Regions from separate parts of the Homo sapiens genome. Here regions 1, 3 and 4 are each linked to region 2. The links are contacts of gene promoters, found by promoter capture Hi-C in blood cells and fetal thymus (Javierre and others, 2016). All regions are on one chromosome and are shown on one strand. The core of a region is centred on a gene start or on the middle of the fragment in contact, and the rest is flanking DNA. Distances in the headings are between cores, read along the strand shown. Region 1 holds the start of CARD10 (caspase recruitment domain family member 10). Region 2 holds the start of IL2RB-AS1 (IL2RB and C1QTNF6 antisense RNA 1). Region 3 has its middle 6.9 kb from the start of ELFN2. Region 4 overlaps CARD10 (caspase recruitment domain family member 10).

The links. The method cuts DNA at HindIII sites, captures the fragments that hold promoters and counts their contacts. A CHiCAGO score of 5 or more calls a contact.
Region 1: the fragment with the promoter of CARD10 here is called in contact with the fragment with the promoter of IL2RB-AS1 in region 2 in 3 of 17 cell types (neutrophils, total B cells and naive B cells); the score reaches 6.5 in neutrophils.
Region 3: a contact is called between a fragment that was not itself captured here and the fragment with the promoter of IL2RB-AS1 in region 2, in 9 of 17 cell types (naive B cells, neutrophils, naive CD4 T cells and 6 more). The highest score is 10.6, in naive B cells.
Region 4: a fragment that was not itself captured here is called in contact with the fragment with the promoter of IL2RB-AS1 in region 2 in 7 of 17 cell types (neutrophils, non-activated CD4 T cells, naive B cells and 4 more); the score reaches 8.7 in neutrophils.

The regions. Positions count from the first base shown.
Region 1 is chr22:37,516,129-37,522,529 of GRCh38, forward strand. CARD10 (caspase recruitment domain family member 10) reads right to left here and starts at 3,287. Exons shown (of 20, transcript NM_014550.4): 1 at 2,838-3,287; 2 at 1,843-1,980; 3 at 1-170. The coding sequence starts at 3,072. The HindIII fragment of the contact is 26,549 bases long and covers 1-6,401 here.
Region 2 is chr22:37,165,443-37,170,948 of GRCh38, forward strand. It overlaps IL2RB-AS1 (IL2RB and C1QTNF6 antisense RNA 1), which reads left to right and starts at 1,317. Exons shown (of 2, transcript NR_199008.1): 1 at 1,317-1,522. It also overlaps a transcript of IL2RB not described here. RefSeq lists enhancers at 1,488-1,537, 2,852-2,911. The HindIII fragment of the contact is 5,870 bases long and covers 1-2,384 here.
Region 3 is chr22:37,431,449-37,437,371 of GRCh38, forward strand. No RefSeq gene overlaps it. Among named protein-coding and RNA genes, the nearest start is that of ELFN2, 6.9 kb to the left of the region's middle. The HindIII fragment of the contact is 6,818 bases long and covers 289-5,923 here.
Region 4 is chr22:37,498,763-37,504,291 of GRCh38, forward strand. CARD10 (caspase recruitment domain family member 10) reads right to left here. Exons shown (of 20, transcript NM_014550.4): 9 at 5,424-5,529; 10 at 4,423-4,451; 11 at 3,840-3,963. Among named protein-coding and RNA genes, the nearest start is that of MFNG, 15 kb to the left of the region's middle. RefSeq lists enhancers at 3,300-3,899, 3,900-4,497. The HindIII fragment of the contact is 6,027 bases long and covers 1-5,134 here.

The DNA.
Region 1 (6,401 bases), core at 2,037-4,536, 350 kb after region 2:
AGCCTGCTGCTGGTCCCGCAGCCGCTGCTCCAGCCCTGCCCGCTCCTCCTCGAGCACCCGGCCCCGGGCCTGCAGTTGCTGCTCCCGCTGCAGCTGGCTCTTGCGAGCTTCCCGCAGCCGTCGCACCTCTGTCATCAAGAATTGGGTCAGGCCCTCAGGCCCCTCCTCATCTGCCAGGACAGAACAGGGGACAGAATAGGCAGCTCAGGCAAGTAAAATCCAGGAGATAACATACTGTGTCAAAAAACTCAAACCATAAAAACACTAGAGGGAAATTCTGGAATATATTTGTAGAATTGGGAGCAGGGGAGGTCTTCCTAAACAACACACAAAATCCAGGAGTTATAAGAGAAAAAAGATGGACAAATCCATATAAAAATGTTTAAACCTTTGAAAAATGAAAGATGTAACAAAGTTAATAAGCAACAGAGTGGGAGAAAATATAACAAGAACTCAGAGCCGTAATATATAAAGAGCTCCTACAAATCAATAAGATCAACAACCAAATAAAAATATGGACAAAAACTATCAATAGGCAAGTCCCAAAATAAAAATAGTTAATAAATACAGGAAAATATGCACCAACCTATCAACAATAATTACAGTAGCTACTAATATTTGTTAACTTCATTCTTTGTGCTAGATATATCTTAATCTTTATGACAACACTGTAAGGTAGGTACTATTATTGTACCCATCTTAAAGACAGAAAAACTGAAGCACAGAGCAGTTATTTACCCAAGGTTTAATAACTAGTAACCTGTGAACTGTATCACTCAATGAAATATAAACTTAAAACAATAACATTATTTTTTACATATCAGAATGGTAAAAACGTTTAAACATGATCCCCAGGATTCAAATGGGCCCTTACACATTCCTGGTAGGAGGTATGTTGATTTAACAGTTAAAATACACAGACTCTTTGAGAAATTCTTCTCAGAACCTCTTCGCCTGAGACACATTTGCACAAAGACGCACATACAAGGATGTTCCCGTATCGTTGTAATAATACAAAACTGGAAACCTAGGTATCCATCAACTGGAAATGGGTTAAATGAATTATGTCCTAACTTCACTAATGAACAGTATGCAGTCACTTAAAACAAGTGTATGTAACAGAGGTGAAAGAATCACTAAAATCAGTTGTTCTAAGAAAAAGCAAAATACACACGTAGGCGTGTGTGCGTGTGTGTATGTGTTTGTGTTTTTTATATAAAAAAATTCAGCTAGGCGCAGTGGCTCACGCCTGTAATCCCAGCACTCTGGGAGGCCGAGGCAGGCGGATCACAAGGTCAGGAAATCAAGACCATCCTGGCCAACATGATGAAACCCCATCTCTATTAAAAATAAAAATACAAAAATTAGCAGGGCGTGGTGGCCCATGCCTGTAATCCCAGCTACTCGGGAGGCTGAGGCAGGAGAATCGCTTGAACCTGGGAGGCGGAGGTTGCAGTGAGCTGAGATCGCGCCACTGCACTCCAGCCTGGTGACAGAGCAAGACACTGTCTCAAAAAAAAAAAAATTCAAAGTCACCTGGAGCCTCTGTATTTTTTTACATAAAAAACTATACATCTGTGTATGTCAGACATATGTCTGAAAACAGTATCACGAAGAAAGAGCCATCTTAAGCATGTGGCTCTGAACTTGGAATAACGGCACTAGCACCCAGCCCCACCCTCAGCCTACCGTGGGGCCCTGGGCAAGCCCCTTCAGCCTCTCCATGCCTCAGTTTCCCTTACTGTTCAACAGGCATAGTGGGAGCGCCTCCCTAACAGGGATGGGGAAAGGAGCCTGTGCACTGGAGTCCGAGGTGCCAGCATCCACCGCAGATCCACTCACCGAGGATCATGGAGCAGCGCTGGGCGGGTTCCTGGCCCGTGAGCAGCGTGAAGTGTTCGGGGTAGTAGAACTCCAGGGCTTCCAGGAAGGCCTCATAGCCCCTCTTGCCACGGCAGCGCAAGATGTCCATCAGGCGCCCTACAGAGTAGTGGGGGGATGTACCCAGGGTCTAGGGGAAGGCCTCCCCAGGTGCCTGGTTGCTTCTGCCCCCACCATGCTCCAGGCCCACGTTCCCCAGATTTTTGAGCCAGTGACACACACAGGGGCCTGTCCCAACACATCAGGGAAGAGAAGAGAGCCATTCTGCCACAGCCAGGGGAGCACATTCCCTCATGACTCCTGGGCTCCCAGAGCTCCCCAACACCCCCCACAGACACAGATGCCGGCCCGCAAATGCAGCCTGCCTTTTCAATGGCACAGAGAAGCCCCCTCTATCCCCAGAAGCAAAGAAAATACTTCTCCCATTGGCCATGCCTGAAATTCCACCATTAAAGACCATTCCATCATGCCTTTTTGAGTTCTGGTTCAAAGGCACACCCTGTGGGAGTGGGGACCCACGTAAAGCTGAGACGGATCTTGACACTTGAAAAAGGACTCCCCCAGGAGTGTATGGTGCACAGAGGAGGGGACAGACAGAACTCGGAGATCAAAGAGCGCAGGAAAGGTGCCAAGTCCACCGGCTGTGACCGGGAGGTCCCAGGCCCAGCCGGCCCTGGCAGCCACATCCAACCTTCTGCTCTAATGTGGACCCAGGAAGTGGGAGAGAACCCCAAGAGACAAAACTCTGACCCCGGTGTGGGCAACGCGGACCGCCAAGGCGCAGTGGTGGGTGGGGAGGAGGCAGGCTGGTGGGCATACCCAGCCGGCCCACTCTACTGATGCGGAGACCGAGCCCCAGGGCAGCAGAGCCCTAGCTTCGCGCTACACGGCTGTGGGCGCTGCGCCCCAGGGCACGGCCGGCCCAGGTCGTGGCCCACTCGGGACCCGCGGCTCACCGGTGCGGTTGACGCGGCACGGGAAGCGGTAGGTGCTCAGCACCTCCTCCTCGTCCTGCTCGTCGATGACCCGGCACTGGCGCAGATACGGCGTGAGCTTGGCCGGGTTCAGGGCGCGAGCCAGCCGATGCCGGACGCCCTCGATTCGCTCCCACAGCGCGTCCTCCTCCGCCTCAGACCCCGAGCCGGCCCCGGCCTCCTCCTCGGCCTCCCCCGCCTCCGCCCGGCCCGGCATGGCCGTGTCCTCAGGGTCTGCGGGCAAGAGGCGCACGGGGGTCGACCAGGGCTCCCTAGGGCTAGATGTGCGGCCAAGCACCCCCGGGGCGTCGTCCGCAGACCCGCCGTCGGGGGCGCGCCCCGAGCTCCCCGCGACTCACCCCGCACGCTACAGTCGCCTCGGGCTCCCGGGTCCGCACTCGGGCGGCGGCTCCGCCGGCGCAGGGGGGCGGTGCCCGTGGCGCCCCCGGCTCCGCCCCCGTCCCCGCAGCCTCCTGGGCTGCCCGGGCCTCCCCACATTGCCGCCCGCCCCGGGTCGTGCGTCCGGCCCCCGGCCACCCCGCGCGTCCGTCTGCACGCCCTCCCTCCCGGCCGTCCGGCTGCGCCTCCCCCTGCTTCCTGTTTCCCGCCGGCTCTCCAGCCCGGCTCGGCGGGGTCCTGGCCGCCCGCCCACACCTGCCCGGCCTCTGGGCGGGGCGGGGGCGGGCAGGCGCGCTCACACCCCCCGCGCGCCGCGACACACCTTCCCCGGGCCACGCGCATCGCCTCCCCACGCCCACAGCGCGCCCGCCCGTGCGGGGCTAGCCGCTCACGCCCGGCGCAGCCCGCGGGCACTCAAGCTGGGCTTGCCCTTCTCGGGTCCCCACATGCACTGCGGGCGCGGGAGCTTCCCTGGAGCGCAGGACAGCCCCGCGGGGGACAGCAATGGGCAGAGGTCATGGGGGCTTTCTGCAAGATGGGGGTCTGAACCTGCAGGGCAGCACTGCCAACTCCCCTCTTACGCAAACTCCCGTGGCACTTGAGGACCAGGGACCCCACAATTCTCAAAGGGTATTCCTCCAGGTGTTGGTCCCAGAGATGCTGGGGGCGGGCTGTGACTAGCCATCCATACTCCCGCTCCTGCCTGGGAGGCCGGTGGTGTCTTACCATGATACTGGCCGAGTCTACACGGTATCTGCTGGTGCATGCGATACAGTCTCGCTATGCATTAGAAGCTGCCAGGTACCTGCTGCCAGGGAGGAACAGAGGAGGCACAACCGGTACAGGAAAGAGGTGTGAGCTCCCTAATCGCCTTCCACAACTTCTGAATTAGATGCCGTGGACATATGTATTACTTATCCAAAGAATTAAGGTTTCAATCAATAAAGGCTCTGAAAAGCCCTGCTTAAATTAAGGCCGGGGGCGGTGGCTCATGCCTGGAATCCCGACACTTTGGGAGACCGAGGCGAGTGGATCACCTGAGGTCAGGAGTTCGAGACCAGCCTGACCAATATGGCGAAACCCCATCTCTACTAAAAATATAAAAATTAGCTAGACGTGGTAGTGCGCGTCTGTAATCCCAGCTACTCGGGAGGCTGAGGCACGAGAATCGCTTGAACCCAGGAGGCGGAGGTTGCAGTGATATCGTGCCACTGCACTCCAGCAGCCCGGGCAACAGAATGAGACTCCCCCTCAAAAAAAAAAAAAAAAAAAAAAAAAGCCCCAGCAGTAAAGAAACAGATTTAACTTTATATATCCTGGTGTCCTTTTCCAAACTTAATTAACCACAGCCTTTTTTTGGTTTGCATTTGTTGTACATTTGTTTTTGTTTTGGGTGTCACCTGTTTACATGCAGAAGAAATGCTTTGGGAGAACTGAATTCTAGTGCAAATTCCTCAATTAACAAAGGAGGAAGCAGAGCTCAGAGAGGGCAAGGAACTTGCCCAAATTCACACAGCGAGGCCACAATGGGAATAGGCCGGAGCCCAGCCCCTGGCCTCTGTCCTCTCCAAGCCCCGAGTCCAGGCACACACCAGACCTCCCTTTCAATACGTCCTTCCCCTCTCTGTGGCCTTGGTTGCCCTCCCACGCAGAGCGGCAGCTCCTCCCACCAGCAGCCCTACTCCTCGTGAATATTTTTAACTTGGCCAGCAGAGCGGGATGGACGCCTTGGAAAATGAGGCTATGGTTAATTATTTTTTCATCGAGAAGCTAAGCAGGGCCTAAAGATAAGGCACAGAAGCCAAGAGGTCTCTGCAGATAAGTGGACAGAGAAGTGAGGGCACACTGGGTCTGAACAGGCAGGTAGCTGGGTACACCGAGTGCCCCTGGTGCCCAGCATTCCAGGGGAAGCGACAGAGTTCCTTTGGGTACCACACTCCCACATTCACATGTACAATTATACAGGCATGCACACGCACCATCACATACACATGCACACATACACACCCACCCACTGTGGGCATCAAGCCAGGCAGGAGGCAGACAGGGGCGTACCCACTTCCCCACAAACATCTGAGCCTCCTCATCTTTCCCCTGTCCCCGGGCGTCCATAGCACCGAGTGTGCAAGCGTGTGATTAGGTACCATGTTCATTATTGTCCTCTTGTGAGTTCTGCTACATTCATCTTCTCTCTATAGCTATGCCAGGAAGGCGGGCAGGGACTACAGCAGGGACACCGAGAATCTAGACTTTGTACCAGGGGCCCTGGGTTCTATCGCGGGCTCACCGCTATGAGTATTGTTCTTCTTTGAGTCTCCATTTCCCTGTCTGCAAAAGGCAGGCGGTGAGTAGTCCCAGCCACACCTACAAAGGCAGACAGTCCAGGAGTGGAGGGTGCCCTGGAGACCAACATTCAGCCTTAGCTGCATCTACTCGGACAAATTCCTCCCCCTCTCAACTTCTACATCTGAAAAGTGGACAATAGTCCCCCATGTGCAGGGACTGCCTCTGAGTTGCAGTCTCTCCATATGTGAAGTGGGTACAGGAATGTCAGTCCTCTTCCCAACTCATCAAAAGGCATGCCTCCATGTTTCAAACCAGTCTGCGTCCTACTGCCTGTAGCCCCACTGGTCCAAGCCACACATGCCCCCACAAACTCCCACCCACAGTGCTATGGGCTATGGTATGTTCTCCACTCTGCAGCCTTAATGATGTTTGTTTGGTTTGGGAGGTTTTTCTTAGACAAGGTCTGGCTCTGTCACCCAGCCTAGGGTGCAGCGGCCCAATCATAGCTCACTGCAGCCTTGAACTCCTGGGCTCAAGCAATCCTTCTGCCTCAGCCTCCCACATAGCTGGGACTGCACATATGCACCACCATGCCCGGCTACTTTTTTTACCCTTGGTAGAGAGGGGTCTTGCCACGTTGCCTAAGCTGGAAAGAATGATGGTTTTAAAAACATAACAGGTTTTTCTCTGGCTTAAAACCTCTTAATGGTTTCCACCAAACTGGAATAAAATGCAAACTGCCCCCAGACCCTGCTGGCTCCCCCGCCTCCCACTTCCCACTGCCCCACTCGCTCACTAGTCTCATTCTGTTCTTGGAACCTGTCAGCTTCTTCCACATCAAGGCCCTTGTCCACCCTGTTG
Region 2 (5,506 bases), core at 67-2,566:
GAGCGTTTGTCAAGCGTCTGTATTATCCTGGCTCAGGGCTGGGAGTTATAGCAGCCACAAAAGATGCCCAAGACTCCACCCAGCCCTCAAGGAGCCCAGAGTTTAGCTGCAGGGACAGGAAATAGGCATGGGAACGAATGCAATATAATCACAGCTAAAGTTTGTATGAGATGTGCAGATGCTCCTGGGCAGCTGCCTCTTCAGGGCAGGCTTCATGGAGAAGAGGGCTTTTTTTAAAAATTTAATTTAATTTAATTTAATTTAATTTTATTATTGTTTGTGGGGTTGGGGGAGGAGGGGAGAAGAGGGCTTTGAGCCAGGCCTACCCAGGGCAAGTGCCAGAAGGACAGAGGCGGGGAGGACACAGGTGCAGACCGGCCTAAAGCAGACACTTGGAGCTGAAAACATCCTGAATCCAACCGTCCACAACTCCCCTCTACAGCATCTCCTCAAGAGGGCCAGACTCCCCTGAATTCTCCCTACGGCAAGGAAGTCATTCCTCGCCAGGGGAGCGAGATCATGGCCTGTCTGGTGTGCACGTGTGTGTGTCTTTGCCACAGGTGTGTTCTTTCCAGAACTCCTGTGAACAGGTGGGCCTCCTTTGTGCAAACCTGAGCCATGCACATCCAGCTCAGCTGATAGCTGGGCCAGGAGAGGTGACCTCACCGCCCATGCTCAAGGTCTCTCTGTTGCACTGGACAGGGCCCCTCCAGCCTTAGGCCCTTGAAGTCCTGGCTCCTTGGAAATGCCCCTGCTACTGGGGGGACCCTCAACTGCACCAAAGGACCGCAATGGAAAGGGGGCACTCAGCGCCAGAGCCTCCCCGCCCCCCCACCTCCTGCCGAGAGGAAGCCCAAAACTGGCACATCCACACACACAGCCACACGCCCCCTTTGAAGGCACTGCACCGCTGCGTGTGTTGTACACGGAGCCTGCGCTTCCTGGGCCAGAAGTGAAGCTAAGATGCACTCCACGCATTCAACCGTTGAACCCTCATTGCAGCCACCAGAGTTCTGTGCCACCCCTGCTCCGTTCCCGCGGTGGAGGGAGGACGCCTAGGCCTTGGGAGGGATCGGGAGCGCGTAGAGTGACACCCTGGGCTCCACATCCACGACACCTTCTCCCCCATCTGGACTGCCCAACTACTTCATGCCTACCTCGGGACTTTGCATGCAAAAGGCGCTCAATCATCCCTTCAAGAATAATTGAGTTAGAAAACAGCAGGGCACAATGACAGGTGGGCCCAGAAGTTGCCACCAGAGGGCAGTGCGCGCACCTCCCCAGCCTCCTCGAGACTTGTGCTGCAGGAGGGAGGTGAAGTCGCGGCCAGGAGCGTGACCACGCTGGACCGTGTCTGCTGCCTCCCCGGGAGTCGCAAGTGCCCACAGGACAAGCAGGGGAAGCAAACTGGGCCCCTGGCTTCTGGGAAGACAGCATGAGGGCAGACCAAGGAAAGGCAGCCGAGACCAGCAGACCTGCAAGGGATCTCGGAGGCTCTCAGGCCCAGCTGCTTGCTGAATAGGTAATGATGCATCTGGGCCCAGAGAGAGGCAGCTCTCAGCCTTAGGTCACACAGCAGGGCAGGAGTGTGAACTCTGGCCTCCAGCCTCCGAGGTCCCCTCATCCCACCTAACCCCCAGACTCAGAGAAGGACACTCCACCCAAGCAATTTCTCACCTTCCCCTTAATTGGTACAGATCAGAAACGGGAGCACCTCCTTCTCCTGGCCCCCACGTTTAGGGTTCCCAGGACAGCCTCCGACCCACCCTCTGCCCCTCCTGTATCCCTTTCCTCGGCCCTGGGTGACAGCACCCCTGCCCAGACCAGCTCTGACTGCCTCCAAGTGCCAAGCGCTCACAGTCCTCTACCCCCAGCCCCAGCCGGCACCCTCAGTCTCGTCCCACCATCTCTCTGCCTCCTGAGTCCCTCCCTGAGTCCCATGCCCTCTGCCCCAGCGACTGCCCTTGTAAAGTGAAAATCCGACCCCACCCAACATTTCCTGCTGCACTTATGCAGTATCCAGGCCTCCTCGCCATGGAAAGCCCAGGCCTGCGGCCTCTCTGGCTTCTTCTCTCCCTTGCCCCACTGCCCCTGGCTGTCTGGCAGTTCCTGGAAGTCTCCAAGCTCTTCCCTGCCTCGAGCCCCTGCCCACGTTCTCTCTGCCCCAGGCCTCAGCCTGCGGTCACTTTCTCAGGGCAGCTTTCCCAGCACCCCGTGCATCTAAAGTGGATGCTGCCCTGCCCATCACTGGATCAGGTGCTCATATTCCTAATTGACTGGGCATAGGTGGGAGGATTTGCCTGGTGTCTGTCTTCCTGGCTGGACTGCGGTGCCTCAAGGCCACAGGTGAAGTGCATGGAGTCCCACAGCTTCTCTGAGCCTAAAGCTTTGTGTGACAAATGCATTCAAACTGCATTTATTGAAAGATGGGAAGCAAGGGAGGAAGGGAAGGGGTGCGGGAGGGAGGGAGGACAATCTTGGTGTTGGGCTGAGGTGGCGTCTGTCCCCTTTGCATGAGTTCAGTAAGGATTTACTGAGCACCTGCTGGCAGCAGCATGCTGGGCACTGTGGGAATGACAAGGATGTGTGGGATTTGAACTCTAACTCAGAGTACCTTCTCTTGGTATGGAGGTAGGACAAGTATGCAAATGATTATAACTAAGGAAATCGTGTCAATGTGGTGACCCTTGGCCTGAACTTTCAGAACAGTCCTGGTATCACGTGAGAAGAGTAAATACATGTGATTTGATTCTAAACTGGCTAAGACGTTATTAAAGAAAGTAACAAGACAGAAAAAATACTTTTTCAGGCTGTCTGTGCAGTTTTGTCTTTAGAAAATGTGGTCATAATGAGTATGAGAGGCATAGAGCGTGCCCAGTTTGAAACGCCTGCAAATGACAAAACACAAAAACACAAACCCAAAAATAGAACGTGGCTTGGCTGGAGCCATAGGGGAGGCTCCAGAGGATGTGGCATCGGTGCTGTGGGCAGTGGGTCATTGTGCAAAGGCAGTGAGGGCTGGGTCCCCATCCCACCTTGGCCACTTCCTAGCTGTGTGATCTTGGATAAGTTCCTTTACCTCTCTGAGCCTGTTTCTGCATCTGAAACATGCGACTACTCCCCACCTCTTAGGTTCATGGGGATGGCATGAGATTGTGCACACAGAGAAGCCATCACCCACAGTTCCTGGCATGCAGGAGGCACCTGAGGAAGGCTGGGTTCTTCCTCTTCTCTGGGAGGATGGGGATGAGTGTTCCATAGGCCGGAATGGGTCGAGAGAAAGGGCCCAAGACAGAGGGAGCTGCAAGAGCCAAGGCACAGACTAGGTGGCTGAAGGCAGTTGGGGAACAACAATTATCACCAGAGCCTAATATTTCCCCAGCTCCATCTCCTTCCCTCCACGCCCAGTGCCAGAGGGGCACTGCTTATATAGGGGTTCTGCTTACAGAGGGGTTCTTGCTTACAGAGGGGTTCTGTTTACAGAGGGATGCTGTTTACAGAGGGGTTATTGCTTACAGAGGGGTTCTCGCTTACAGAGGGGTCCTTGTTTACAGAGGGATGCTGTTTACAGAGGGGTTCTTGTTTACAGAGGAGTTCTGTTTACAGAAGGGTTCTTGTTTTCAGAGGGGTTCTTGCTTACAGAGGGGTTCTGTTTACAGAAGGATTCTTGTTTTCAGAGGGGTTCTTGCTTACAGATGGATTCTGTTTACAGAGGGGTTCTTGCTTACAGAGAGGGGTTCTTACTTACAGAGGGGTTCTGTTTACAGAGGGGTTCCTGTTTTCAGAGGGGTTCTTGCTTACAGAGGGGTTCTGTTTACAGAGGGGTTCTTGCTTACAGATGGATTCTGTTTACAGAGGGGTTCTTGTTTACACGTTTACAGAGGGGTTCTTGTTTACAGAGGGGTTCTTGCTTACACAGGGGTTCTGTTTACAGAGGGATTCTGTTTACAGAGGGTTCTTGCTTACACAGGGGTTCTGTTTACAGAGGGGTTCATATTTGTTAGCGGGACGCTGCCATGTCATCCTTCACTCTGCATCCAGAGCATCCTTGCACACAACTCTTCAGGGGCTCCCCACTGCCCTCAAGACCCTATCCAAGCATCCTGAGTCTGGCTTCAAGGCTGTCCCTAACTGGGCCCCCTCTTGAAGATCCCCCTTTGCATCCAATCCTCTGGCCACACAGAACGCAGAATCGCTTGCATGCCTCCCCCTCCTCCCAGGGTTTGCCCCCTCCCTGCCCTGCATGTGGCATCCTTCCTTTGCCTTCTTATCCCGCGGACTCATCATCCTTCAGGCCCCGGGTTCACATCCTCCGTGAAGCCTCCCAGGCCTTTACCCTTGCTTTCTGATGGGGTTAGGTACCTGCCAGAGGCCTTCCTTCTCTCCCCAACTAAAGTGGGTGCTCCCCAAGGGCAGGAACTGAATCCCATTCATTCTGCATTTCTTTATGCTGCCTGGTATGTGCCTGGAGCATAGGAGGTGCTTAGTCATTGTGATGTGGATAGAAGGGTGGTTAATGGGTGAATGGAAAATGGACTGATGGATGAACAGAAGAAGGATGAATGGGGGGATCATGGAGGGAATGATGGAGGGAGAGAAGGAATGATGGGGGAGAAGGAAGGAAGGATGGGGGAGAAGGAAGGAAGAATGGATGGATGGATGGATGGATGGATGGATGGATGGATGGATGAAGGGATGAACAGACAGACGGATGGACAGACAGTGGATGTGGATGGACAGAATAATAAGACTCTTTCAGGAAGGCCAGAACACAGCAGAAAGGCCCTGAAGAAAACCAAAGCAGCTGCAGGAAGTTTGGTGTTTGCCAAGGTTGGGGGTGAAATGAGCTACCTGTTTTGCAGAAGAGATGGGGTGTGTTTTAGCAGCTGACATCACAGAAGGTGCAGGTCCCAAGACCTAACAGGAGAGCAGCTGAGAAGAGCAACAGCTCCTCATAGACAGGGATGGACAAGCTAGGCCAGCAGCGGGGGCAGACTCTGCACTGTCCCCGCTGCCCCCAGCCGTGGAGAGATGCGTGTCTGCCACAGGGGAAGCAGCGCCACCCAGGGGCTGGGGTAATGACAGGCGTGGCCTCTTGGGGGTGGACAGTCTAGAACCCAAGCCTCCATCCCTCTCTGTGGAGGCATCATGGGAGTCGACTTGCCCCTTCTGGCCACCTCTCAGTCCCAAGGGTGCCACATTTGGGGTTCTCCACCACGCAGTCACTGCTTGACGTGGCTCATGGCCTCCCAGCCTCACTGCACGGGCCACACACACTTCCCTCAGTTCCTTTCCTCATTGTCTCCGCAAACACACAGATTCCTGCTGCCTTTAAGACTTTACTGCTGATCTCCAAAGAGATGAAGCAATCTCAAAGATAAACATGAAGCAAATCCAAAGAAATCCTGCAAAATTCTGGGAGCGCCTTTCTGTGGTTGGAAGCTGGGCACGTGGTGGGATGATCCTGCCAGCCTGTGGAACTTCCGATATTATGGATGAGGGTGGA
Region 3 (5,923 bases), core at 2,448-4,947, 270 kb after region 2:
CCATCCTCGAAATGTCAGTGCCAGGTGACATGGGTGGGCTGGGCACCTGCCCTGCATCCCAGAACCCCATCTGCTCGGCCTTCTCCCAGAGGTGCACAGGAGCTGCCCCTGGCTGACAGCTCACCAGAAAGTGCCCTTTATTTTCAAGGTGAACAAGCATGGCCCACATCCAAATGATCCCACTGCCCTGGCCACGTCACTAGAAAGACATTTTTTCCAGAAAGTCGTCCTTTCTTCAAAGCTTAGAGAACAGAGGAGGAAGAGTGAGAGGAACATAGAAATGCTAAAAGCTTCACGCATTGTTTAAGGTGAATAACAAGATTTACCCTTTGTACTTAGGTGAAATTTTCTTCACTTGGTCTCAGTGGCATTTTGAGTTGATGCTAAGAAAATTAGGTTAAAGTGATTCTTTCAGAGAAACACACACACACACACACACACACACACACACCCCAGAGCTTGTGCGGGGTGTCACATTCCTCCTTTGGATCCAGACCTAAAATCACATTTCTGTTGCGCCTCCAGTACTGGAACTGAGGACATCAGCTCGCTGAGGACAGGAGCCAGTGGTGAGACAGAGCCTGGAAGAAAAAGACGGGCCTGGAAGGCAAAGCGTGGTCCTTGCCCACGGTGGAACCCTGCCAAGTGGACTAGGAAGAGATGGGGGCTGAGCTGCCTTCTGGGGAAGGTGGGTCCTCTTATCTAGGAGTGTTTTGTTTTTCTGGTCACTGTGACAGGTCAGGGCATGCAAGGATGAAGGTAGTTGTCAGATGCTGGGGCCTGGGGGAGAATGAGTAGGAGAGAGAAGAGACCACAAGTCGGGAGGAAGGTGACAGGGAGGGAAGCCGACCCGCCCAGGAGGCCTAGTTGCGAAGAACACATGTATTTCTAGGAAGGATTTTGACATTCTTTTGCTGTGGTGTGTACATTACGAGCCCCCTCCCCCACTTCAGTCTCCCTACCACCTCCTTCCCCCCACTCCCTTCAGAAAAGTCTGCGTGTTTCTCCTATGAGTCATTTATTGCTTTGTAATGAATTACCTCAAAACTCAGTGGCTTAAATCTGCAAAATGACATGCTTATTATTTCACAGTTTCTGTGGTCAGGCATTTGGGAGAGGGTGATTCAGCCTTGAAATGTCTCATAAACTTGCAGTCAAGATGTTTAGCTGGGGCTCCACCCATCTGAAGGTTGGACTGGGGCTGGCGGATCTGCTTCTGAGATGCTTCCCTCACGTGGCTGGCAGGGTGGTGTTGGCTGTTGGTGGGAGTCCTCTGTGTCTTGTCACATGGACCTCTCCATAGGACTGTTTGAGTGTCCTCACAACATTGCGGCTGCTTTCTCCAGAGTGAGAACAAGTAGGAAGCCTGTGTCTCTTAAGACCTGTCCTCAGAAGTAACACTCATTTTTGCTTTCCCGTTGGTTCCATGGATCTGACCCATTCATTGTAGTGAGGGGACCACACAGGGGGTGGAGCCCAGGAGGGAGGTACCATCAGGAGCCCTCTTGGGGGCCAGTGGTTTTGAGATCAATCAATTATATTTGGGGAAGTTGAGGAAGTTCTGTGTTCTGCATCCAGACTATCAAAGACGAAAACAGAACTAGAGGAGTGGCAGCCAACACAGGATGGCCTGATTCCTTAGGAGTCCATGATTCTGAGAGCCTATGGTCTTCATTGTTTATAGACCAAGGGCAGCTCAAGGCTAATGATGCATAAAGAATGTGCATAAAGACCCTAGGGCTGGACAAGAGTCAAAGGTGGCCGAAGGTGTGGCCCCAGTGAGGGGGTGCCTGTGAGGACCAAAGGCCAGGGCCACACTCTGGGGGATATTTTGAAGTGTCCACGTGGATGCCTGTAGGTCCAGAGACCCAGCTATGGGAGGGACCCCAGAGAACCCTATTAGAGGTGCTGATGGCACCCTGCTTGCCTGGCTGGGGCTGAGATGACTGGATGGTGAGGTTTGCCAGGCTGCCTCCCCGCCAGTCTTGGTAGAGCAGCCCTGGAGTGTGCTGTCAGATAGGGAGGGGACAGGAGGACAATGGGGGACACCCCTTTTGACACACCGGCTGCCTCCACTAGAAGGTGAGCCATTTTCAGCCAATTCAACCATCTAATCCAGATCTGTGCCATGGGTGCCCAGCCCCTTGCCAGTCACAAGCAGGTGCTTGGGGAGGGTCCTGGTGAGCTGCCCCACCCAATGGTGCAAGGGCCAGACCGAGAGTGTCCATCCCCCTCCCCCCAACCCCGAGGCCTGCTCCAACAGAAGCGGGATCTGCCGAGTGTTTACAGCCCCATGGCAGATGGCCTCCTCTCAGCTCTCTGAACCAGGAGACTCCTCTGAGACACCCCCAGGGAGAGCTGGAGGAGGAGGAAGGAAGGCTCAGATCTCTGCATCTGCCTGACTTATTCTGTCCCCTAGCCAGAGGCCACTGCACCCCGCACTATTGTGTGGCTGCCATTTGGATCTGAGCACCCTTGCAGGGAGCTCTGGAATTCTGCGGGAGCCACAGCAGGGGGAGCGGAGTTAGCCTCAGCTGGCTCAGCGGCTACGAGGTCAGCCCGGCAGCCTGCATTATTAAACCATCTATCTGGCTCCCTCCAGGGAGATGCTGGGGGTGGGGGCAGGCTGCTGCCTGGGTCCGGAACTGGGGCAGCCGGCAGCTCCTGGGAGCTGGAGGTCACCGGCCTCATGGCTGGGCTTGTCACTGCTGACCTGCTGCCGGCTCCGAGGTTCCAGATGCTGTAGGGGCTAGAAAGGAGCTGACTGGCTGGTTTCTTCATGTTCTTTTTTCTGCTCAAAAACTTCTGGTCTCTGACTCCACAGGGTAAAGCGCCAGCTCCTTACGCTGGCATCTGGAGTTTTCTGCAACCTGGCCACACTCTTCCTAAAATCGTAATAATAGCTCAAAAAGGAGGTGTTTACTCTCCTTCAGGCTTGGTGCCATGTGCTCTACATGAATTAAAGTCTCTGTGAATAATGACAACAATCTACGAGGTACTTCTGTTATTCTCATTTGACTGCAGAGGCTCAGAGATGCTAAGCAATTTGACCAGGATCACACAGTGAAGAAGAGGCGATGATTCCCCCAGGCTTTCCTGCTGATGCAGCCAGGCTGTGGCCACGAGACGCTGGGGATATTTTAGGCTCAAAGCCCCATTCTTAGCCCTACAATCGCTTGTCACTTCCCAGAGTCATGCCTTTCCTGAGGTTCTCTCACTGTAGAATCTGGGGGACTGACGGTCCCTGGGGAGGGGGATGCATTGTATATATTCCCAAGACTCCATGGCAAAGGGAGGGTTTGTGTGGCTGCTACCAAGTTACTCAGGCTCAAATCCCAGATGCTACCTGAATGCCACCTGGATGCCACCTGGGCTCCTGTCAGCTCTGCCTGCTAAACCTAGCCCCTCCTCTCTCCCTCACTGCCACAGAAGCAAAGGCAGGTGGGTCCCATTCACCTTTGCGTGCTCAGGGTCTGGCATGCAGATGGCACTCCAAAAATATTTGCTAAGGAAAATGATCAAGTGTATGCCTGCGTGAACAAACGAAGGAAGAAAAGAAGAGGGAGTGGCCAGCATGAGGAGAGAAAACGGATGGGTGAACAGGAAGGCTGGTGAATTCGGCTCTGCCCTAGGGACCAGGGGTGGGCACTGGGCAAAGGAAATCTTCACACAAGAAGAGATGCTCCAGGAACCTGCCTGACAGGTGGGAGGAGCACGCAGGCAGGGCGCCTGGAAGGGGCAAGGCGTGGAGGAAGATTTGAGAGGGGGCAGTAAGAGCAGGCCACAGAAGAGGCCTTGGTCTCACTCAGATCCTTCCGGTAGTTCTGACTGGTTTCTCCAAAATCTCCCCATTTTCTCTCATCTCCTGCTTTCTGTCTGCCCTCATGCTTGGAGGCCATGGAACTCCAGCTCACATGGCCCATCACAACTCATTCTCAGAGCAAGCACTGGCACAGCCTTGGCATCTGACACCTAGCTGTGCCTTAGTTCTGCCAGGTCTGGCCAGGGCGGTGATAGGGACTTCCCCTCTCTTCCGCCATAGACCCAGCTCTGGTCACAGCCAAGACCCCAGCTCCCCACACCCAGAGGAGAAGGCTGGAGCAGGGCCTGGAGATGGGAAGGGATTTGTGAGCCAGGCGGGCTCCTTTGAAGTGGGACCTCTCCTTCCTACCAGGGGCTGAGTGGGACCAGGAGGGGAGCCTGTGTCAGGGCCACAGCCATGCAGGCTGGAGTCCAGGGCAGTCCCCAGACTCCTTGGAGAGGATAACAAGACCCCTCACCACGTAGGAGCGGCTCCCTTGTGCCAGGTTGTAGATATGCCGCCATGTCCTCATGACAACCTGAGGGGATGTCATCAGTCCCCAGGACTCATTGGTTGTAAGTGACAGAAACCCAACTTAAACCAGTTTGAACTGGATTACACTCAAAGGTGATATCTTGACTCCCATAACAGGGCAGGCTGCCTTGAGGAAGACTGGGAAGGAGGAGGAGGCCATCTTGAATGCCATCAACATCCTCTCTTTGTGCTGTAGTTCTCTCAGGCCCACTGTCCCTGCTGCAGGAGAACCAGGAGCCTCCACAGGCCCAGACTTACGGCCTGACAGATTCATGGCCAGAGTGGGAAGAGCTTCTCTTCCCATTCCAAGCTGAACAATTCTAGGAAAGGACTCTGATTGGCCCAGCGTGGGTCACATGCTTATCCCTTGGACCAATTGCTGTGGCCAGGGTGACCCAGCCTGGGTCAGGTACCCCTGCCCTTGTAACCAGGGAGAGGACCTGTCAGCAGAGGAACTGGGAGGGACCCTGGCCAGACAACAGCAACAGCAGCAGCGCAGGGACTTTTTAAAAATACATGTTTTATTTTGGAATAATTCTGGATTTATGGAAACAATGCAAAGATAGCACAGAGAGTTCCCGGATACCCTTCACCCAGCTTCCCCTGAAGCCAGCATCTTATATAACCGTGGTACCTTTGTCAAAATTAAGAAATTAGCATTGGTGCATTACCATTAACTAAACTCCAGCCTTCATCCAGATTTACCTGTTTTTCCATGGATTCTTTTTCTGTTCCAAGATCCTATCTGGGACATGACATTGTATTCAGCCATCATGTCTCCTCAATCCTCTAGCCTGGGACAGTTCATTGTACTATGCTTGCTTTGCTTGACCTTGACAGTTTTGAAGGGCCAGATATGTTGTAGACTGTCCCTCAATTTGGATTTGTCTGATGCTTGCTTTTTTTTTTTTTTTTTTTTTTTTTTTGAGACAGAGTTTCGCTCTTGTCTCCCATGCTGGAGTACAGTGGCACAATATCGGCTCACTGCAACCTCCACCTCCTGGGTTCAAGCAATTCTCCTGCCTCACCCTCCCGAGTAGCTGGGACTACAGGCATGCGCCACCATGCCCAGCTAATTTTTGTATTTTTAATAGAGACGGGATTTCACTATGTTGGCCAGGCTGGTCTCGAACTGTGACCTCAGGTGATCCGCCGGCCTCGGCCTCCCAAAGTGCTGTGATTACAGGCGTAAGCCACCACGCCTGGCCTGTCTGATGTCTTCTTATCATTAATATGGGTCACAGTGGGGGAGAACAGCCCAGAGTTATAGTACATTGTCACTGCTACATGTCAGGGGGTACAGGATGGATCATTGGTGATACTAACCCTGGTCACTTGGTTAGGGTGGCGCTTCCTTCGCTTAACAGATAGGCCTTAAACTGAGGCCTGGAGAGGTGAAGCTGCTTGCACTGGAGTGATGGTAGGGCAGGAGGTGAACCAGGCCCATCTGACTCCCATTATCCCACATTCATTGGAGTTTTAGGCAGGGAAACTGAGACAGAAGCCCAGCTCTAAGAGTGGGAAGGTGAAAAAAGCTGTACCATGGAGTCTATTCGGTATGCAGCAAGAAAACTGAGCCCAAGACTT
Region 4 (5,529 bases), core at 871-3,370, 330 kb after region 2:
GCTGGAGCACACGGTCCGCTCCAAACCCCAGGGCAAACTGCACCCTAGCCTGGGCAAATGAGCCGGCTGCTGAGCGTCAGTTACCACATGCATAACACGAAGCTGACAATGACACCCCTTGCCCTCTGTGGGTGCTGGGGGGTGGGGGGGGGGGGCACATGAATAAAAGATAATGCAGGGAGAGGTGGAAACCAGAGGACTCTGGGGCCTCCAAACTGCAGGCCTGGCCCTTAGTGGCTGGTAACATTCACTGGGTTGCGACTGGGACAGCTGGATAATGCTATGGAATAGAAAGTACAATGCTATCCCCCACCCCGCTCCCGCCACCCCAGGTAAATCCAATTATTATCTCATGACCTTTTTGTTCCAGGCATGTGTACCGGGTTTCTCTCACTGTGGGTTGTGGTCAGATGGTCCGAGAAGCACAGCACGCAGGGTGCCAGCAGGAACTCTGGGGTCAAACGGCCCAGCTGCTCAGCCGCTTGAGCCTCAGCTCCACCCACCTCCCTGGCTACTCGCTGAGTTTAGACATGGGCAGCTCTCAGAACAGGGCCCAGGAGACACTAAGTGCTCTGTCAAAACTAGACATTTACTGGCATCAGGTGTGATTCACAACAAATCACCTCTCGCTTGCCTCAGTTTCCCCACCTGTTTCAAACCCACAGACAACTGACCATCATGGCCTCTCCAGACCAGAGCCCAGTAAGCAGCTGGCATCCAGGCTCTTCCACCAACCCTACCCACCCCACCCACCTCTACTCGCTCCCTCCTCCACACCTCTCCCCTCTGCAATGCAAGCATCAAGGCTGACCTCAGCTTTCAACTCAGGTTTTTCAGGCTCTTCTTGACAACTCCTGCAGCTCCCTGAAGACCCAGCTCAGGCGCCCCCTCCTCCAGGACGCCCTTGCCAACCTCCTCAAAGGACCAGTGACTTCTCTGAGCCTCCACAGACCAGGAATACCTGCTCCCAGCACTCCTCGGAGTCTGCAGAGCCCACAGGGGCTTGCCCAGAGCAGGGTCCAGATAGGGTTCCTCCCAGCCCCCCGCCTCAGCAGACAAGCAGGAGGGGTAGAGAAAGGACACAGCAGGGAGAGGGGCTGCCTGCTCCCCGCTCCTGGGACTGGCTGACCAGCTGGCTGCCTGTGTGGTACTAGGAAGCACAGTGTCCTTAGCTACCAGCTCCCAGCCCCCTCCCCAGTCAGGTCAGGTCACAGGCAGACAGGAACGGGGCAAGTCTGCCAGCTCTGCCAGCTCTGAGCAGTGACAGGCCACATGGCCTCAATGAATGTCCCCCAGGGCCCCGTGGGAAGATATCTGAGTAGTCTGCGTGCCTGCTTGGTACCAGGTCAGGGACCTGATGCTGAGACTGAAGCATGCCACACAGATCACCTCAGTCAATCCTCCTGACAACCCGATGGTTGAGATAAGGGAAACTGAGGCACAGGAAAGTTAACTTGCCAAGAATGGGCACAGCTAGTGGGCCGTGGAGCCAGGCAATGACTTATGGGAACCCTCTCTTTGCAAGGACAGAAGGTGCCAGAGATCCCCTGGGGCCACGTGAGCGAGCTGGGCAGTGGTGAGGCTATGCTGGGGAGACGGCACCCCGAAACCCTCCAGTGCTCTCCATGCTCTGCCTCTCTCACCCAGCACCTCACTTGCCCCATGAGTTCTCCCTTGCTGTCCCCCACCTGACTATCTGTCAGCCCAACCCCCGGTCTGCCCCAGCCCCCCACTATCCACCATCCCCTCCCGGCACCCAGGCTCCAGGAGCTGAGAAGGGCAGGGCAGAGAGGCTGAGGGCAAGAGATGGGCAGGAAATGGGAAAGAGGAGAGAAAATGCCCAACATGGTGCCCAGTACAAAGTGGGCACACAATACGGATGTGAGATCTCCAACAGCTGAGACAGTGGGGAGGCACATCGGAATCTCCAACCAGCTCCGAGGGGCCTGTGACTTGGGACCAATTTCTAACTGTCTCTGTACTTCAGTGTCCTGGTCTGTGTAACGAGGTTAAAATTCCAGCCTTGCAGAGCTGCTCTGAGGATTAAACAACAATGGCGACAATAATCATAACTAACCGCGAGCATATGCTGACATCCACCGTGAGTGTGCTAAGCATTCTAGAAGGGATACTCAAACCCCCATAGTGACCCTAAGGGACAGGCACTATGTGAGCCCATTTTACAGAGCAGGAAACTGAGGCACTGGGAAATTCAGAGACATGCCCAAGGTCCCACAGTAGCAAGTGCTGACACCAAAGCCAGCTCTTCCCACCTCGCCATAACACAATCCCAGGAGACACACAAGTTGCCCCGACCTGGGACCTGTCCGGGCCCTCATCTCCCTCTCCCTCTCCTCTCCGCCTGTCTGCCTCTCTCTCTCTCTTTCTCTCTCTCTCTCTGTCCACCACCTCTGCACCTTCCCCAGCCTGTGTTCTTCCCCAGGAACCTCTCTCCTCCCCAGGAACAGCATGGGCAGCAGAAGTGGCCCCATGTGATCGTGGGGCCTGGGCGGGGCTGGGACGGAGGCTCCTGCTCCCTGGCTGCATCCTGGCGCCCCCTGGACAACAGCCAGGACCCCTGCTGCAGCCCAAACTGGAGGAAGGGAGGAAGGGCCGAGGCGAGCAGGAAGGGAGGCGCCTCCACCCCTTCCCCGAGAAGCACGTCCTGCACAGGCAAAAACAATGTCTCGCTGAGCCCACTGCCGGGGGCCAGGTGGGGGCAGGGCCTGGACACTGGCTGACCAAGCCGCTCCGGAGGCCAGAGGCCCTGGTCCTATGCTGTACCCATCTGCTGCGTGACCCATCCCTCTGCACCCAACACCTCCACATTCCAGCGCTGACAGTCCATGTTTCCTATGCCCTTTCCAAAACCCAAATCTGATCAGGTCACTATGAACCCAGACCTGGTACTTCCCAACTGTGGGACCCTGGGCAAGTTGCTTAACCTCTCTGAGCCCCAGTTACCTCCTCTATGGAGCAGAGATAATCGTCATTATGCCTACTCCCTGGACAAAGAGCATGTTGTAAAACAGCCAGCAGCTGGCCTTGCAGTTAATAACTAAACCCTCCCACATTTCCCAGAGTGTACAAGCCAAAGTCCACACTTTCCCAGCCTGACTCAGGAAGCCTTGACTTTCGCCCTTCCCCCTCGCTCCTCCTCCACAGTCACCGGATGCTCTCCCTACCTGCCCTCTCCTCACAGCTGAGTTCCAAGACCACAATGGCCGTGCAGCCCCCGCTCTGCCCCACCCCTCCCTTAGATACACTGGCAGGTGTGAACAGCGGCCACGCACCGGCCACACTAACAGCACGTCGCCTACAGTGCACTCTGCACTAATGGGCTTTGTGACTCCTGTTATGGACCTGTGGCTGGCCCGGTCACAGGGGCTCCTGAGGTGACCCAAGCCCACCCACAGCATGAAACTTTGCTGGGTGGCTCAGTCCCAGGGACTCAGAGCCAAGGGACTGACAGGCAGGACATTGGGACGAGGACAGCTTGTAAGTGACAACTATTACTAAGCACCTGCTACATGCCTGGCAGAGCTGGGTGCTTTGCTTCTGCGAGCAGAGCCCTCAAAAGACCTCCATGCAAAAAGGGTCATCATCTCCCTTTAGCTACTGAGGAAATGGAGGCCCAGAGAAGTGAAGGGACCAGCCCAAGTCACAGGGACGATCAAGAGCGGCAGCAGGATTGGAATCCAAGGGCTGCCAGTGTCTACAGATCTTAATCTTCCAATAGTTGCATAAAACAGGGGCGAGGCAATTGCTCCTCCCACCTCACTCCTGTTCCCCTCTCAAGCAATCACCCCAGCTCCACCCACTGCAGGCAGCTACAGTACCTGTTGAGGAAGTCCAGGCCACAGCCCCGAGCCAGGAGGCCTTCCGGCTTTCCCAAAGGCCACACGCTGTCAGAGGATGAGGACGAAGAGAGGCCAGGGGACCAGGGCTTAAGTGTCACACTCCCTGGGGAAAAAGAATGAGGTTCAGGGATCTGGCACTGGGAAACAGGGATGGCCAGGGTCCATGACAGGGACTGACCCCCCTCCAGCCCAGAGAGGCCTTGGCAGGTTTGAGGCCCCAGGAGCACATCAGACCCACTGGGCTCAGAGATAGGTCAGGGCCCACCAGGCTGACCCCGCAGTTTCCCAGAAGAGGGTGAAAGGTGGCCCAGAACTGAAGAGCCTCGTACATCACAGCCGGGAACAGGAGTGAGGCCCAGGACTGGGCTCGGGGTGAGAGGCTGGAACCAAAGTCCCCAGGGTCCTCCCAAGCACAACCTTCCTGCCTGGCAGGGGCCACGGCGGGGCTTCAGGGAAGGGGATGCAGGCCAAAGGTAGCGCAGGTGGTGCAGGCTTCAGGTGGGCTGCAAAGCCACCTCCCCCGACCAGAGGAGCCCTCCCCACGGAACTCAAGGGCTGTTACCTGTGATGTCTGACATGCTGCTGAAGGATCTGGGCAGAGAGAGGGCAGGGAGGGGGCAGGAGGTGAGGCACAGTGGGCACTCTGCCCCGCTCCCTCCTCCTGCCCCCACACCAGATAAATGTCTCACAGCCCCCAAGCAAATGCAGGCTAGACTCAAGGCAGGGTCCCAGGTACAGGGCACCCATGCCACCTGGCTCCCCTAAACTCCCAGGGTAAGAAGTTAATGTCCTGGCCTCTGTCCAATGTTGTTCCACCTACAATGCCCTGGCATGCCCTTCAAAGCCAGCTCTTTCAATGCCACCTCCTCCTGGAAGCCACCCCTGATCTCTCACCCCTCACCTCACCCTCACTTGCCACCTTTGTGGTTTGTGACTCCCAGGTACGCCTCCTAAATTAAACCATGACCTCCTCATCAGACACCTCCTTGGGACAGATTTACGCAGATCAAGGCCATACTGACCACAGCCTCCCAGGGCCCAGCCTCTCACCAGTAAAGGAATAAATCAAGGGCTGCTTACAGGGGAAAAGCAGTGACAAGGATCGCGCCCCAGGAGGCAGGCTATCTCCCGCCCTTGGTCTTGCCACCAGAGGGTGCGCCTTGGTTTTTCTGGTCCCTATTTGCTGCTGATGCCCAAACCTGGGGCCTGGCTTTCTTGCCGGAGGTCCCTGATACCTTGAAACATTCTCCACGCCCCCTAGTCCTGAACCATCAAGCTTCTCCTTGGGTATAGGATCTTCAAGGCTTGACCCCCAGTGACCCTCCTGCCAGGATGCTTGGCTAGGACTGAGTTCGCTCTGCCCATCGGCCTTATCTTAAGCCTGACCTTGGTCGCCCCTGTGACTCACAGGACCTGGGTTTCCAGAGCTCCAGCCATCTGAGGGCAATAAAGGGAAGTGACTGCCTGGACCTGACTTTGGCATTGCAGATTCTGGGAGGTGGCTGTTCGGGAAACGGCAGCCCCACCTCCCTGGGTGTCTACTGCTATCCCCAGCCATCTCACCTCTTAGGGGGTGCGGGGTCTTCCTCACGCTGCCGGCGGAGGATGGAGCCGGCACTGGGGGGGAAGGGCAGGATGGAGAGCCGATTGATCTCCTTTTCACTGTCTG